5 separate regions of the Homo sapiens genome follow, and regions 1, 2, 4 and 5 are each linked to region 3. The links are contacts of gene promoters, found by promoter capture Hi-C in human tissues and cell types (Jung and others, 2019). All regions are on one chromosome and are shown on one strand. Each heading gives the region's core, a stretch centred on a gene start or on the middle of the fragment in contact. The rest is flanking DNA. Distances are from core to core; before and after follow the strand shown.

Evidence for each region. Contacts are between HindIII fragments. The study calls those that stand out against the background at their distance.
Region 1: a fragment that was not itself captured here is called in contact with the fragment with the promoter of ZNF423 in region 3 in 1 of the 25 tissues and cell types used here (lymphoblastoid cells).
Region 2: a fragment that was not itself captured here is called in contact with the fragment with the promoter of ZNF423 in region 3 in 1 of the 25 tissues and cell types used here (lymphoblastoid cells).
Region 4: a contact is called between a fragment that was not itself captured here and the fragment with the promoter of ZNF423 in region 3, in 1 of the 25 tissues and cell types used here (lymphoblastoid cells).
Region 5: a contact is called between a fragment that was not itself captured here and the fragment with the promoter of ZNF423 in region 3, in 1 of the 25 tissues and cell types used here (hippocampus).

Annotation. Positions count from the first base shown.
Region 1 is chr16:49,415,770-49,418,968 of GRCh38, reverse strand. All of the region lies in intron 2 of LOC105371244 (a long non-coding RNA gene), which reads left to right. Among named protein-coding and RNA genes, the nearest start is that of C16orf78, 44 kb to the right of the region's middle. The HindIII fragment of the contact is 4,694 bases long and covers 1-3,199 here.
Region 2 is chr16:49,512,359-49,515,505 of GRCh38, reverse strand. All of the region lies in intron 7 of ZNF423 (zinc finger protein 423), which reads left to right. Among named protein-coding and RNA genes, the nearest start is that of LINC02179, 48 kb to the right of the region's middle. The HindIII fragment of the contact is 5,204 bases long and covers 1-3,147 here.
Region 3 is chr16:49,854,424-49,857,519 of GRCh38, reverse strand. ZNF423 (zinc finger protein 423) reads left to right here and starts at 1,408. Exons shown (of 8, transcript NM_001379286.1): 1 at 1,408-1,785. The coding sequence starts at 1,746. RefSeq lists a silencer at 1,905-2,164. The HindIII fragment of the contact is 13,140 bases long and covers 1-3,096 here.
Region 4 is chr16:49,399,316-49,402,397 of GRCh38, reverse strand. All of the region lies in intron 7 of LOC105371244 (a long non-coding RNA gene), which reads left to right. C16orf78 (chromosome 16 open reading frame 78) reads right to left here. Exons shown (of 5, transcript NM_144602.4): 5 at 2,967-3,082. Among named protein-coding and RNA genes, the nearest start is that of C16orf78, 27 kb to the right of the region's middle. The HindIII fragment of the contact is 3,495 bases long and covers 1-3,082 here.
Region 5 is chr16:49,544,507-49,547,719 of GRCh38, reverse strand. The region is part of intron 5 of ZNF423 (zinc finger protein 423); the gene reads left to right. Among named protein-coding and RNA genes, the nearest start is that of LINC02179, 80 kb to the right of the region's middle. The HindIII fragment of the contact is 6,595 bases long and covers 1-3,213 here.

The sequences.
Region 1 (3,199 bases), core at 23-2,522, 440 kb after region 3:
CTGGCTCTGTGAAGGTGCCAGTTGGTGGTCTTAGTTCACAGGGTGGCCACAGTGGCTCCATGCATCCCCCGACACCAAATGCCATCTTGGCACTGTGCCACACTGAGGAAGCCAAGAGCTCAGCCCCTGGCACCAGAGAGCTTCACTTTTTGAAGCTATCGTCAGCTTCCATCACTGCTCTAAGCCTGTCCCTTATCTGTAAAATGGGGCTAGGAAAAGGATGCCCATAAGGGGTAGCGGCATGTCTGGGCTCTCTGTGCATCATTTCTATCCTTATCAATAAACAGTAGGCTTCTCCCCAGGAGTCCTAGAAGAACAGCATGGCAAATACTGCCACCACAGTGATCTTGGGTGTGAAAAACCTCAGCCAGGAGGGTTTTGGGGTTGTGTGAGCCACTGGCTTGGGCTCCTTCCCTTCTCAGGTCTGTCTCTGGCATGTGGAAGGCGGGTGACCATGGAGCCCCTTCCCTAGCAGTGAGAGTCGCTGTTCAAATCCATTCTCCCAGATCCTTTGACCCCCAGACTCAGGGGAATCCCCGGACTTTAGGACTGGAAGGCCCTTCGGGGTCTCCAAGTTCCCCGCTCCTCACTGCCAGCCATGGCAGCCATCCTAGGATGGCTCACCCTTGCCTTGAAACTCACACGGTTGAGACCACAGAAAGCCCAGCCCCTGGGATTCCTGAAGACTTGAGGTGGTGGCTATGGTCTTCTGGTTGCTCTGAGAGACTTGCCTGTCTCCCCTTCACTGCCGCCTCCTCCAGGAAGGCATCTGAGAGGATCAGTGAAGCCTCAACTACCCCACGGGTTCTGCGCTCTGCCTTCCTCCCCATGCCCAAGAGGGAGTGGGTTTTGAGGCACCCTGCTCTTTGGCCCTGTGCGCAGCTCTCCTGGCAGAGTGGAGAGCTGGTGGTAATTGACAGGGAAGTGATTGGGTATTCTTGTGTCTCTGGCCTTAGTAACATCAGCATAGCCCTCAGTGTCTACTTTTCTCCCTTCCCCTGCCACCCCTGGGTTCTCTACAGATGGTGGCTCTGGTGAGCCCATGGTTCTCTCCTGCTAAGTCTCTCTGTTCCCTGCCTTGTTTCTCTCCATATGGTGGCCCTGATGAGCTGTAAGAAATGCCAAGCTGAACCTCTCACTCTTCTGTTTTATTTATTTTATTTCATTTTATTTTATTTTTTTTAGAGATAATGTATTGCTCTGTTGCCCAGGCTGGAGTGCAGTTGTTCAATAATAGCTCACTGCAGCTTCAACCTCCTGGGCTCAAACCATCTTCCTACCTTAGCCTTCCAAGTGGCTGAAACTACAGGTGTGTGCCATTACATCCAGCTGTTTTTTTCAAATTGTGCTTTCTATAGAAATGGGGTCTCACTGTGTTGCCCAGTCTGGTCTCAAACTCCTGGGCACAAGTGATCCTACTGCCTCAGCCTCCCAGAGAGCTGAGATTATAGGCATGTGACACTGTGCCTGGTCATTCCTCTGTTTTAAACCACAAAACTCCTGACTAGTCTGGTTTCTGCCTGGGAGTCCACCTCATACCCCGAACCCATTCTTCATAACTCTCACTTGGGCCTTTGCACCTGCTGCTCCCTCTGCCGGAAGCCTCTCTTCTCCTGCTTCAACTCTGCCAGGTTGAAATGCCTCTTCCTGACCTGGCTCTCCCAGCGGGGGTCTGAAGCTGTGGCCTCCGCAGCCACCCACAGGCCACCTTGCACTATCCCCTCCCAGTACCTTTTCTCTTCTTCTTCTTTTTTTTTTCTTTCTTTCTTTTTTTTTTTTTTTTCAGGCGGAGTTTCACTTTTGTCGCCCAGGCTGGAGTGCAATGGCAGGATCTCGCCTCACTGCAACCTCCATCTCCTGGGTTCAAGTGATTCTCCTGCCTCAGCCTCCCAAGTAGCTGGGACTGCAGGCGTGTGCCAACATGCCCAACTAATTTTTGTATTTTTAGTAAAGACGGGGTTTCACCATGTTGTCCAGGCTGGTCTCGAACTCCTGACTTCAGGTGATCTGTCCACCTCGGCCTCCCAAAGTGCTGAGATTACAGGCGTGAGACACTGCACCCAGCCATACTTTTTCTTATCTGTGTGGCCATATCTCCCCCGCCTCCCTCTCTGTTGTGCGACTGCCCACCCCATAAGGGCAGGGAGGGTCTGCACTGCTCCCCACTATACCCCTGGCTTCCAGGGTAAGACCTGGTCTAGGGAGGCCCTTCCCCACCTGACACCGGTCCTGTCCTGCCAGGTAACCCAGGAGACCCCCGAGCCGAGGCCTGGTATCTGGGTGAACCATCCTGGCTCCATTGCAGCACACTATGGCAGCTGAATAATTAACTCTCCAATTATAGGCCCATAATAGAGGCTTAATCTGGGGCTCGTTGGTAATGAGCCTATTCACAGGCCTTTCATCCAGGCCCCAGCCCTGCGCCGCTCAGAGAGCCCCCGCCTTGGCTATGTGTCAGAGTCCACCCTCCTGCTCACCGGGGCCTCGGCCCTGCACCCCTAGCCTGGCTGCAGCCCACCCCCTGGCCTTGAGGTGTCCTGGGCTGTGTCTGCGGTCCCAGGTAAACCCGGGGAGAAAAGAGCATGCTCTGACCTCTCCTCCCAGGGCTGGGTGGGCAGCAGAGCTCAGAGCCTGCAGCAGATGCCTCTCCGCCAGGCCAGGATGAGCCTGGAAGCTACCAGGAAAATGTGCCCCCGGCGCAGAAGGCCCCCCTCATTATGGAGACACACCAATTGGCTCGGCCCATGAAAGCCTTCAGGTTTGAGAACGTGAAGACTTAATTGCCTTATGGACATGGAAAGAATGGAGGGGCTTCTCCAGGGAGCGGTTCCTTGCCTCGTGCTTTCTCTCTCCCCCACTGGATAATGACAGGACTTATGACTGATTAAAGGGGGAAGACAAACTCCCCTCTGGGGGGCCAGTGACAGGTTCCACCTACATTTAAAGCATGCCCCCTCCTCAACTCCACTCCTCCTCCCACCGACTTTTCAGAGGTGATTTTTAATTGCTTTTTCCCAGGTGGAGAGAGGGAGTGGAGATGAGGGGTGCGCGGGGAATTTCACATTCGACAGCGGCCCCTGCATCTTGGTTCTTACTGGGGCACGCTGTTCCTGTGGGGCTTGGAATCGCAGTAAATTTGTCGTCCAGGGAAGCATGGAGAGCAAATAGGCACACAAAAACTCCCCTCTCTCATCCCTGG
Region 2 (3,147 bases), core at 389-2,888, 340 kb after region 3:
GTCATTTGCAAATGGCAGAGCCACACATAAAGCTGGATTGTCTTTGCCACCAAGGCAAACAGAAACCCTCCAAAGTTTAAATAAATTGCCATTTATATGAGCTAATAGATTTAAATGAGGCCTGCAGTGCTGAACTATAAAAAGCTTTCGTTGTCAGGGGACCCAGAAACTATTTTAGTAGTTGGGCCAAGCAGGTAGCACAAGTAGCAGTAACAGGGGATGCAAGAAAAATTGCTCCTGGGTGAGCCCAGGTGGGAACGCCATGGGGCCTGTGCGCGCGGGGCCAGGGCTGTGCATGGCCACGTTTGCCAGGCTGCAGCTCGAGGCCAGGACCCTGCAAACCCTGTTGCTTGCAAATGAGCATCAGGATGGGTTTGGCTTAGGCTGGGCTTGGGGAGAGGAAGGATTCATTCTCGTCACGGAGATAGGGACTTCCTAAGACCTCAGGTTCATGGTGCTGCCACCTTTCTCCCCTTTATGACTTGCTTGGTCCTGTCATGGGGGAATAGAACTTGAACTAGAGAGATGTCTTTTTAGACATAGAACTTCTGGGATCTTGGAGCTGTGGGGCACTGCCTGCCAGGGCATGTCAGAGTTCACAGCGCGTGTATGTGTGCACGCACACATGCACATGTCCTTGATGAAGATGGTTTTGGGGTGTTGGACCAGCGCCACGCCCTGGAATCTTGACTCCCTCATTGACAAAGCCAGGGGCTGCAGGAAGTGATTCCGTGAGCCGGGCCCGCGGTGGCAAAGCGGCCAGCCCAGCGTTGAGCGGGCGCATTTAAAGGATTAGCTCATGCTGTTTGCTTGTGTGTGCCTAATCATGCTGCTTCCAGCTAAATGATTACAATTGATTAAAAGCAGAGCTAGGTATTCTAACAAGCAACCCGGAGCCCTTTCGATAGGGTGAGCCGGGCTCTGCCAGGCAGGGTCCTGGTACCCGGCCAGAGGGAGAGCTCTCTGAGACAGGGGCGGGATCTCAGCTCCCTTGGGACCCTTCCTTCCTAGCCCTTGAGAACATTTGATTCAGCCCTTGCCCTGATTCCATTTACTGAGTACCTACTCCCGGCACCACCTCAGGAGCCTGAGACAGAACTGGGAACAAGGAGACAGGGTTTCTATTCTCATGGAGCTGACATGCTTTGGGAGACACTGATGATAAGTCAGTAAATACATGAACTAGGGGATTTCAGAATGTGAAAACGCTGTACTGTGATGGAGAGTGGTGTGTGTATGTGCATGTGTGTGTGTGTGTGCGTGTGCGTGTGTGTGTACGCATGTGCGTGTGCATGTGTGTGTGTGTGTGTGTGTGTGTGTTGGGTGGTCAGGAAAGGCTGGCATTTCAGCTCAATCCTGGAGGTTGCAGAGCCAGTGTGGGGAAGAGCTGGGGGATCCTCCAGGAGAGGGAAGAGCCAGTACCAAGTATCTGAGGCCCAAGCAGATTTGGGGTGTTCTCAGAACAGAATAAAAAGGCAGAGGGACTAGAGGGGCAAGCAGGACAGACGGCCACTGCCTTCCTGCATTATTCTCCTGGGCTGGCCTCGCATCGCCTACCCAGTGAGATCAAGATGGGGCTTCCTAGATGCACGTACACCTGCCTATCTGCCTGCAGGAAGTACCCTTTCTTTCTCTTAATGCATCAGCCCAGCTCCAGTGCCTCCTCCCCTGAGAAGCCTCTCGGATTCTCCTTCCTTTGGTTTCTCCAGCCCTTGGTTTAACCCCCCTGATTCCGTTGGCCATATGGATTGTAAGTCACTACGTCTACACCAAACTCTCCACTCTGACGTGAGTTTTTGGAGAGTGAAGACACCCTTTGCCATCCGTCCGTCCATCCATCCATCCATCCATCCATCCATCCATCCATCCATCCCCATATGTGTTAACATATTTTTTGAGCTCCTGGAAAGTCGGAAAGAGAACACAAGCAGGAAAGGAGGAAAAGGAAGAAGGGGAAACCCACAGATTCCGGGAGCCCATTTTTAAAATCCCTGGTCCTTATAAGATGGGTAACCAAAGAGCCAGTTTCCTTGTCTCTTTGTACTGCTGCTGTTGGATCCAGCCAGATAATTATAACTAATAATAATTAAAAATCAAAAGTGCTCTAGGCACATACTTAGCATTTGACTCTGGCTGCGCTTTCTGTGAGTAGCGGCATCTTCCTCCTTCCTGCTTTAGAGATGGCCCCATCCTTGTCAACCTGACTTCTGCTGGGAGACCAGGGCCCAGATGGGTGTGGCCTGAAGTTGCTGGCTGACACCCAGTGGTGGTTCCAGGGAGTGAGAACCTGTTGCTCACGCTGGAGTCAGCCACTTGTGAGGCCAGGAGCCTGGGGAGGGCTGAGAGTTGGGCTGGCTGCTGACCCCCCGAAGTCTCCCAATCCCCATTATTTTCTTTTTTATTTTTTTGAGACAGAGTCTCACTCGGTCACCCAGTCTGGAGTGTGCAGTAACACGATCTCGGCTCACTGCAATCTCCGCCTCCCGGGTTCAAGTGATTCTCCTGCTTCAGCCTCCCGAGTAGCTGGGATTACAGGTGCCCACCACCATGCCTGGCTAATTTTGTATTTTTAGGAGAGACAGGGGTTTCACCATGTTGGCGAGGCTGGTCTCAAACTTCTGACCTCAAGTGACCCACTTGCCTCGGCCTCTCAAAGTGCTGGGATTACATGTATGGGCCACCGTGCCCAGCCGCCCATTATTTCCTACTGCAGATGTTGTATTTCTCTGGGCTCAGTTTCCACATCTGTTAAATGGGGTAAGACCTGCTGCCTCGGGTTGTTGTGAAGATGGAGTTCGCATGTGTAAAGCACTTTATAGCACTTAGGATAGAAGGATTGCTGAGGGTCATTGTGGCCCTTTTCCAATAGGATCACTTTATGCTTCCTGCCTTCCCCACTAGGGTAGGAAACCAGAGCCCAGCACAGCCTGAATTCTACTGAATGTGACCACATGTTGTGGCGATGCCATGCCCATGCTGTGGAGCTCACAGTCTGGCCTCAGATGCCAGCCCTGCCACCAAGCAGCTCCATGACCATAAGCAAGTCACCGGCATTCTCTTGCTTTCAAGAGACCAGGGTTATTGAAGAGCCCTTCTTTGTTTGGTACTGGGGTAGCTGAAGGCAGTGATGCCTGAAAAGCTCCCAGC
Region 3 (3,096 bases), core at 159-2,658:
CAATACTAGGGCAGCCCAACTCCGTTTGCTCCCCCATTCTTTCACTTTTTACAGTTTGTGAGGCTCATGCGTCTTGGCGAGCTTGACAGCCGCGTGGGCCCTAAGTGTGTTCCCTCCTCCTGCCCCCGGTGCAGCCAGCGCCCGAGCCCCGGCCCCGCGTGCTGGTGCGGTGCCCGCGCCCGCGCCGTGCCTGCCGCCGCCGCCGCCGCCGCCACCACGGTCCGGGTTTTGCGGGCGGCCGGAGCTGTATTTCCAGCGCTGTCCATCGCTCGGTGCTGTTGGCCCTCTCTCCGTCTGATCCGAGCCGGAGCAGTGCGGGGCGCCCCACGGGATCAGAGCGCTCCCCCGCCGGGACTCCGCTCCTCACATCCTCCTGCTGGGACCCGGCTACATTTCCAGCCAAGCCTGGCTTTATTATGTGTCTCTGCAGTGCAGCCCCAGCAGCCGGATCGGGAGGAGGAGAGCCAGCGACCACAAAGAAGACAGGAGCGCGAGGGAGGCTGGCGGGCGGGCCGGCGCCGGCTGGAGCGCGGAGGAGCCGGGGCGCAGCCGCCGCCGCCGCTGCCCAGGAGGACGGGAGCCCGGCCGCCGCCGCCGCCGCCTGCTCGTCCTCCTCTTCCGCCACCGCGGCCGCCGCCTCCCCCCTCTCCGAGCCCCTGGCCCATGGAGGCAGCTAGCGGGGCCGGCGACTTGGCACCGGCCTGGGGATCGGCTGCGCGCCTCGCGCTGAGCACCGCAGCCCGAGGGCAGGCAGCGGCGGCCCGGCGCACGGGCTGAGCGATGCCCGGGGCACGGGCGCGCCTGCCGGCCGCCGCCTGAGCGCCCCCGCGCGCCCCTTCCTCCTCCGGGGGGCCGGCGCCGGGCCGATCCGAGAGCCAGAGAAGGGGGCGTGAGCCAGGGGCCCCGAGCCGCGGCTTCCGAGCCACTGCGGCCGTTTCGAGCCTCCCCTCCAAGTAGGCTGAGTTGAGGGACCCCCGCCCCCCATCCATCATAATCTCCAAACCAGGCGCTTGGGCATTTTTGAGCCATTAATATTTATTATTTTTTTTTGTGCGGCAGGGGATAATTCGAAGGCTTCTTTTTTTTTTTTTTCCTGGGGGGTACTGAGCTTCCGCGCTCCCGACCGCCTCCCGGTCTCCTCCCCCCTTGAGATACCCTCGACTCCAGCCCCGTTCCCCCTCCTCAGATGGGTTCATTGTGAGCTCCGCACCGGGCTGCGTGGCCGGACGCCTGCAAACTTTGCACAAAAATCCGGCAAGGGGCGGAGGAGGAGGAGAAGGAGGAGGAGGGTGAGGGTGGCGGTAGGGTGGGGGAGGGAAGGAGGGGGCCGCAGGGGCCGGGGGCCGGCGGGGGGTTGGGAGGAGGAGGGGGGCGGCTTTTTTTTTTTTTTTTTTTTTTTTTTTTTTGCATAACTCGGCTCGGCCGAGTGGCCTCCGGACTCCCCGCGCCGCTGGGACCGCCGCTTGGATCGGGAGCCCCGGACTGCCGCATTGCAACAGGCAGGGCCCCGGCGCGCCCCCCGGGCCTCCCCCCGCCTTCGAGCGGCCTCGGCCGGCCCGGGCTGCCCCCCCAAGGGAGGCCGCCCCGGACCTGCGGTCCGCTCCCCACAGCCGCCAACCGGGCTGCAAAAAAAAAAGTTTCCAAGAGACAGGCGGAGGAGAAGGGGGAGAAGGGCTGCCCGGAGCGGCGGGGGGCGGCGGGGGGAGCCGGCTGCGGAGGGCGACGGAGCGCCCGGAGCCCCGGACATGTCCAGGCGGAAGCAGGCGAAGCCGCGCTCGGTGAAAGGTGAGCGAGCGAGGCCCGGCGGAGGCGCGAGCGAGCGAGCGAGGAGGGAGGGAGCGAGGGAGGAGGGACCGGCGAGCGGGCTGGCTGCCGGGGACCCGCGCGAGCGAGCCGAGAGGAGGAGGAGGAGGCGGCAGAGGAGGCGGAGGCGGAGGCGGAGGCGGAGGAGGGGGAGGAGGAAGCCGGGAGCAGGAGGCGGAGGCGGCGGCGGCGGCGGCGGCGGCGGAGGGGGTACGCCGCGGACACCCTCCCTGCCCGGACTCGGCGCCGTCGCCCTTGGGGGACCCAGGCCTGGGGGCGCCGCTAAGGGGCCCTTGCCGCTCCCTCCGTGCGGGGCCCGGGCCCGTGTGGCCAATCAAGGGGTGCTGGCCCGACTTGGCGGGGATTGCGAATCTCGGCGGCGGCGGGCGGGCGACAGGAGGAAGGAAGAGGCGGCGAGGACGGGCGCCCGGCAGGCCGACCGCTCCTCGCTGGCCCCGGGCCTCGCTGGCTCTCTCTGGCCCCTGCCTGGTCGCCCGAGGACGCGGGGAGCGGCGGGCGCTGTCGGCGAGCGCCCCGGGCGCCGCGCCCTCGCCCCGGCCGCCTGGCGCCCCCTCCCGCCCCTGCCCAGGCCTTCTCCCGGCCCGGGCCCCTGCACTTCCTGCCTCCTCCACCGAGGCCCACCGGGCAGGGAGCCTCCGCCAGGAGTTCATTGTCTGCACGGCGCCGGCGGGACGCAGGTCCTCAGGGGAGCTCAGCGGCCGCGGTGCGCGCCCCTCCGCGGAGGGCGCCCCGGATCTGACCCCGGGCACCGGCACCCTGGATCTGACCCCGGGCACCGGCACCCTCGACACCCAGGCCGGCTTTCTGTGCTGGCTCCCCGGGGTGCGCGCGTTTGTGGGGAGCTGCAGATATATAGATACACACACCCATCCCTTCGTCTCCACGCTTTGCTTTCTATTTCCAGCGAGGGCCCCCAGCTCGAGGGGACCCCTGGAGAGTAGAGGCCCCGGGGAAAGGCCGCGCGCCGGCAGCAGAGCCCCTCCCCTGGCCTCCTCTCCCCGCGGCTGGCCTTTCCAGGCCTTGCCTGCTGCTTTGTCCCGATTCTAGCCCCTCGGTTGGGTGCCCGGGCGCTCGGCTGTGAGATGGGAGATGATCGAGGAAGGGGGGAACGATGAGAGCGGCTAAGTCTACGGAGCCAAAAGCCCCCAGGCCCTTGTCTTCTCCCATCTCCCCTGATGACCTCTGGCCTGAGCCCAGTTCTGCTCTGAAAAGTTCATTTCCTGGAGGCCTGCGCGGGAAGGCGCTGGGGCCCCGCTCCCTTCCTGCCAGCCT
Region 4 (3,082 bases), core at 279-2,778, 460 kb after region 3:
TAGCTTGTTATTCCTCTGTCTTCAGGACTGTAAACCGCATGTGGGCAGGACCAGGTTTTCTTAATGACTGCATCCCTGGACTCCCATAGGGGCAGGGATGACACACCCATAGGTGGGTGCTTAGTAACTATGTAATGGCTGAGTGTTAGGATTGAGGAATATGACTGGAGGCCAATGGACTAGAGGAGATCAAGGTCTGCCCTCTTTCTCTGACTGCACATGAATCGAAACCTGTGAAAAGTCAGGGACAATGTGGGCCCTGGGTGGATTTGGAGAAGCTGAGAGTGGATGCAGCATTTGGGATTACACACATCCTCCTGCTACTACCAAGCACAACACAGTGAGGAGAGCTCCTGATTAAGGCCAAAATGCTGGCATCTCCCTCAGCTTCTCTGTGACATCAGAAGGGCTGGGCTTCCCTTTTTTCTGAATACCTTTCTCACATTGGGGCTCCTAGTGAGTTGTGGAGGAATGGAACTGATGTATGACTCCAGCTCTTCAGAAAATGATCCAGGGGTCTTAGTGGACCACAGGGGAAGTATAGCACATCAGCCATGTAATACAGCTGGTGGAGGGGAAAAATGAATACATAAAATCTACATGTCATCTGGAAGTCAGTCCTTATTACAAGAAAGGAATCCAGCCACTGGCTTCATGCCTTATTCTGGGTCCATTTTTGGCTATTGCATTTTTTTTTCTTTTGAGGTGGAGTCTCACTCTGTCTCCCAGACTGGGTGCAGTGGCGCTATCTCAGCTCACTGCAAACTCCGCCTCCTGGGTTCATGCCATTCTCCTGCCTCAGCCTCCCGAGTAGCTGGGACTACAGGAGCCCGCCACCATGCCTGGCTAATTTTTTGTATTTTTAGTAGAGACAGGGTTTCACCGTGTTAGCCAGGATGGTCTCGATCTCCTGACCTTGTGATCCGCCCGCCTCGGCCTCCCAAAGTGCTGGGATTACAGGCGTGAGCCACTGCGCCCAGCCGGCTATTGCATTTTTAAAAGGGACACACTAAGGATACTGCAGAGATAATCAAACTGAATTATATCACAGAAAACTGTGGAAAAAACAAGTCTGAAGATGAAATGGCTAAATGGTCACTGTCACATTACATCGCTATGGTTAATATATCTGACATTTAACTTTTTAGGGCCATTTTATCTGTTGTTTAATTTGTTCCTCATCACTAGTCCTGCCTGAATGTGAATATTTACCAGGCAATGAAGGCTAGGGCCATCAATGCAGGATAGAGGTTGGCGGTGCTCTCCCTAGCTGCCGAGTCTGTGATACTGAAGTGAAGGCCTCTGAGGATGCTTTCAGATTTGATTTTGGTTGAGTTAATATTGACGAAGTGCCTGACACTTGTGATGCTCAGAAAATTTGTTTCCTTTCACCTTTTTGAAGCACTGTTTCTACCCAAGGGACTGGTATTTGCTGGAGAGAGGGAGTATCGCTTAACCCTTTGCAGCTGTTTCCTTGGATTCTGGCTTGGGTCTCACTGTAGTTCGGTCTAAACATCGCTTGCTGGATCCCGAGTGTCCTGCTTAGTAGCTGTGTGACTTTAGGCAAGCTACATGGGCTCATACTTCTCTGGCCTGCCCGCTCCTTGGAGGGGTGTTGTATTCCTTAGTGGTGACTGCAACCCTAGGGTGGGCTGGCGTGGGGTAGGGGAGGGTGGGTCCGGCAGCCCCCAGGGCCTCTCTCTGAGCCCCAGTGGCAATGACTTTCAGTGGAGAGACCTACTTACCTTCAAGAGACTACTTTAGAACCTCAGGGTAGGATATGGAAATTTAAAAGTACATGGAAGGAAAATCCCTGCTATTTTAGTATACGGAGTCAGGGAGTAAAACCTGCTCACAAGACAGACTGGAGTAGTGGCTGCCCAGCCGAGATTCTGTACCGGAGTATCTCTGGGGTGTGGCCTAGCTCTTGGAGGCCCAGAGATCATTAGATGTTTAGGTTTGCCATGAGCAGATGTGGATTTGGTATTAGCAGCTTTTCCAAGGGGATTGACGTGCCTAGTTTTGGGGATCCCTCTCAGAAAAGCAGCGGCTGGAAAATCAGCTCCTCGTCTACCCCAGTGAACTACGAAACAGCCCACATTTGTATGGAGTTCTTGGCTGTCACTGACTGTGCTCCCTGCTTCACATGCAAGCTCTCATGTGCTCTTCACAGCACTCCTGCTCAGCACATACTGTCATTAAACCCATTCTACAGGCGAGGAAACAGAGGCACAGAAAGGTAAAGTAACTTTCCTAAAGTCACACAGCTATTAAGTAGGACACGTGGGATTCAGACTTGCTTGAAACACTTGCAGGGACTGGAAGGGCCTGAGTTTGTGACCTTGGTTGGCCAGCATACCCAGATGGGAAGGCTGTGTCTCAAAAAATTCCTGCAGGATTGGCCACAGTCATGCAAGAAAGCAGGGCAGGAGACTTGGGGAAGATACTGTTTTCATCTCAACCCTGCCGTTTCTCATCTATGTAACTCTGAGCAAGTTTCTTGCCCTCTGTGGCTTCTTTTATTCAAATGAATAAGGTCCTGGACTTGCTGATGTTGAGGCACCTACCAGCTCTGAAAGGTTTCAGGTCCCCTTTTGGGGTCTGTGGTTGTAAGCACACAAAGGTCTCCTTCCTTGCCTCCATATGTTGATAGCATTTCCCTCTCTCACTGCCCCAATCAGTCCCCCACTCTGCACACAAGGAAGCCAAGTCCCCACAAAGCCAAGTCGTGCCATGGGCGTGGGGCATGTGTGTGTGTTCTCAACCAGCCCCTTTACACTTCGTGCTTTCTAATGTCCCTCTGAGGACCCTGGACCCCTCCCACTTTTTTTTTTTTTTTTTTTACTCCTAAGCCTTCCTTCCTAAGAAGCCCTTTCTAAGGACTCTTCTTTTGGTCAGGAGAAAAACCAGTTTCTCCTATGCTGGTTCTGACTCGGATGTCAAGGACCAGTCTTACGGAAGCACAATGATCACACAGCCGAGGCTTGTTTTCTGATTGCTTACTTTCTAAAGGGATGCACTAAGTTGGAAGGACCACTTGTAGTGTGCCAGAGGATGGCATCTGGAGGTGAAGGGTCCCATG
Region 5 (3,213 bases), core at 601-3,100, 310 kb after region 3:
TTACCTGCTGTGCTCTTTGGAGAGCTGGGTGGCTGTGGTGGAGTGCTGGAAGGAGCGTGCCACCCTCCGCCTTCAGAAGAGGGCGTGGGGGTTGGAGGTTCCCCGCCAGGGCCCACTCACCACTGTGGAGCTGACCCAGGGAGTTGGAGAGCATGCTGCCAGCTGCTCACCCCCACCATTCCTGGGCCTTGATGAATGCAAACATCCTCTGAGAACCTTTGTTACCATCCTGAGTTTTCAGGTTTCATCTTTTTTCTTATGTCCCTGACTCCTCCCTTGAGATTCTTAGAGTGCTCTGCTGAGCCTTATGGCTCTTCTTGTTAACGTGGTATCCTTAGTGTCGTCTTTTGGTATGTGGGAGGATCACGCATCGTGGCCCCTTTGTGTTGGGTGAAGCCTTGTGGCTAATTCTGGCCAGAGAGCCGTGAGTGGAGCCTTTAACCAACAGAGTGGGACCTTTCAGCATTCTCTCTTTCCCTGGGGCACTCTCAGCATCTGAGTGTTTTTCACAAGCAGAAACCCCTGCAATGGATGTGAAGGGCAAATGAGAAATAAACCATTGCACCCCTTGAGATTTTGGGAGTTGTTACTACAACATAGCTTTCCCTATCTTAATACACAGGTCTTTGTTGATTTCTCTAAAGTTTACAACTTTCTGCAGGGTATTGGAAGTGTGGGAAAGCTGGCTGATTGTTTTTTTTTTTTTTTCTGGAAAGAGTATCAAGTAGATAAAACTTTTGTCCATTCTGGACAGTGAGAAAACTGAGGCTCAGAGGAGTTAGGTGACTATCCTAAGATCACACAGCTTCCAGGCACCAGGCATTGACGTCCCCCAGTTAACAAATGTTATGCTCTTTCTTCTCTCTTGCTTTGCCTTTGAAGAATGAATTCTCTTTCACAGGGGTCACAAACTCAATGACCTTTGAGGTCAAGCAGATCAGGGTGGGGCTGAGGAGCACAGGACAATAGGGACTGATAAGAAGTGCAGGGAATATTCGAAAAGCATTAAGGTTCAGCCTTGGCGTTTAATTCTGTGCCCCCTGATGACATCTCGAGCTTCCACGGATAGCTTCAGCTGCTGTGCGCGCTCACTATGAGTGCCTCCTTCTGATGTCTTGCCCTCGAGTTTAAATCTTGAACTTTGTAATGGAAGTCTCACATGCTCATCCCTTTATAGCCGCCAACTATCTGATAAAGTCCTCTACAGTTAGGATGGGGACTGGCCATTAACATCCTAGTACTCTATCCCCGAGTGACCTTGTGAGTTATCAAATCCTACCTCCTCCTTTCACAAATGAGGTCTCTGAGCTCAGAAAAGGCACCAACTTACCCAAGGACACCCCACCGAGTAGTTTCTTAATGAAAGCGTTTGTACTGTTTGGAAGTGAAGAAAGTCACAGTTTAAGTGGATGGAGGGGTGTTGAAATGGAATTGAGAACAGCCAGTAGGGAAGGAAAATGTGTTCTCCTTAAAAAATGTTAACTTTTGTTTGTTTGTGTAGTCAGAAGACATTTATTGTGCAAGATGCTGGGCAATGTGCTTGATCATTAAAAAAAACCTTAGTGAAAAGATGTCTTGCATTTGTGGGTATAAAAATCTGAAACTTCTTGCAGACAGAGGTCAGTTCTCATTCTGCTTATGTTCCCAACACCTGGCTCTATGCTTTGCACATAACAGAAATTAAGTGTTGAATTTAATTGCCTCTATCCTTATGCTACCAATGGCGATTATGAATAATGGTAAGGAAGTTAGCACAGCCCTGGGGTTAAGAGCACAGCTCTGTGGTTGAAAGGCCTGGGCGCTGTCACTTACTGTAAAGTGAGGACAAGATCATGACCTCCTCGTAGAGATTTTATGAGCCCATCCCAGATGTAAAGTGTTTAGCTGAATGCCTGGCAGGTAGTTAGCACTTGAATGCCTCCAAGATAGTCCAGGAGAGCTAATCTTTATTAACTCAGCGAGCCCAGTCTTGGCTAGTGTCTGTTCAGCTTTGCTTGGGAGACAGAACTGTGGCTCAGCACAGGCAAATACATTCTGCCCACTCCCCATGTGACGTGGACAATAATTTTGTACCCCAAACTGCAAAATCTCCATTTAAAGCAGCTTGGGAGAATTGTTTCAGCATGAGCTACCACTGCAGTCTGGGGTTGCTTTTCTGTCGGAGGCTCGGTGCTGAACAGTTAGAGTGGGGGGTCACCCTGGCTGGCAGGGCTGGGCATGACACCTGTGTAGCTCACAGGCTCTGAGCAGGGTTGATGGGGTGGCATGGTCATGTGGCAGCCAAGGCCCAGTCTTGCACATGTTGAGATGTGATGGGGCTGCCCTTGTCAAGCCTGCCCGGCGCCTCCTCTTCATGACAGTCCCCATTATCCTGTCCAACAGCAATGGGCAGGGGAAGGAGCACTGGACAAGGAGTCAGGGCCCTGAGATTCACTTCCTCTGTCACTTACTATCTTTTCAACTTGATACTTAGAAGCTTAGTGTTCCAACTTGCAGAATGGGACGAAAAATGCCACCTCCATCCAGCTTACTCACATGGCTGAGAAACAGACCTGGGGATAAAGTGTTCCGTAGAGGCCAAGGGGAAGGGCCATTGTTGGCAGAGGTTAAGAGTTGCATTTCGGTCCTGGATCAGCCACGTGGGACAATCACTTTACCTCACCCAGTGTCACTTTCTCCATGTGTGGAGTGGGAATAATAACGGCACCGGCCCCATAGTGCCACTGTGATGAGCAAGTGACTGTGTAAAGCTGGCTTCGCTTCAGCTCTGATCCTCTGGTCACACTGTGAGGTCAGAGGTCCTGTTGTCCTGTTCTGCTGCACATCACCAGCACCCAATGCTGCACCCTGCGCTTGGGCGCTCAGTTTCTGCAGAATAGAAGAAGGATGCGATCCCCTGGAGTTACGTCTTGATGTCTGATGCCTGTAGACTGTGAGCCCAGCAAGGGCAAAAGCCCTGGCTCCCAGGTCACTGCTGCATGCCAGCACCTGGCTCAGTGAGGAAAACCCTCCCAAGCCTTCAGCCCCTGCAAGCACCCTCCCCTGGAACGCCCTCTCTGCCTCCACATCTCAGCCTGTTCATCCAAGGCCACCTCATTCAGGAAGTTATTCATTCACTCATCCATTCAGTAGGTACCTATGCACCAGACATGTGCTAAGGTGATCCTCACCTGTCACGGAGGAAGTTTCTTCCCCCTTGGTGTTACCTCGACC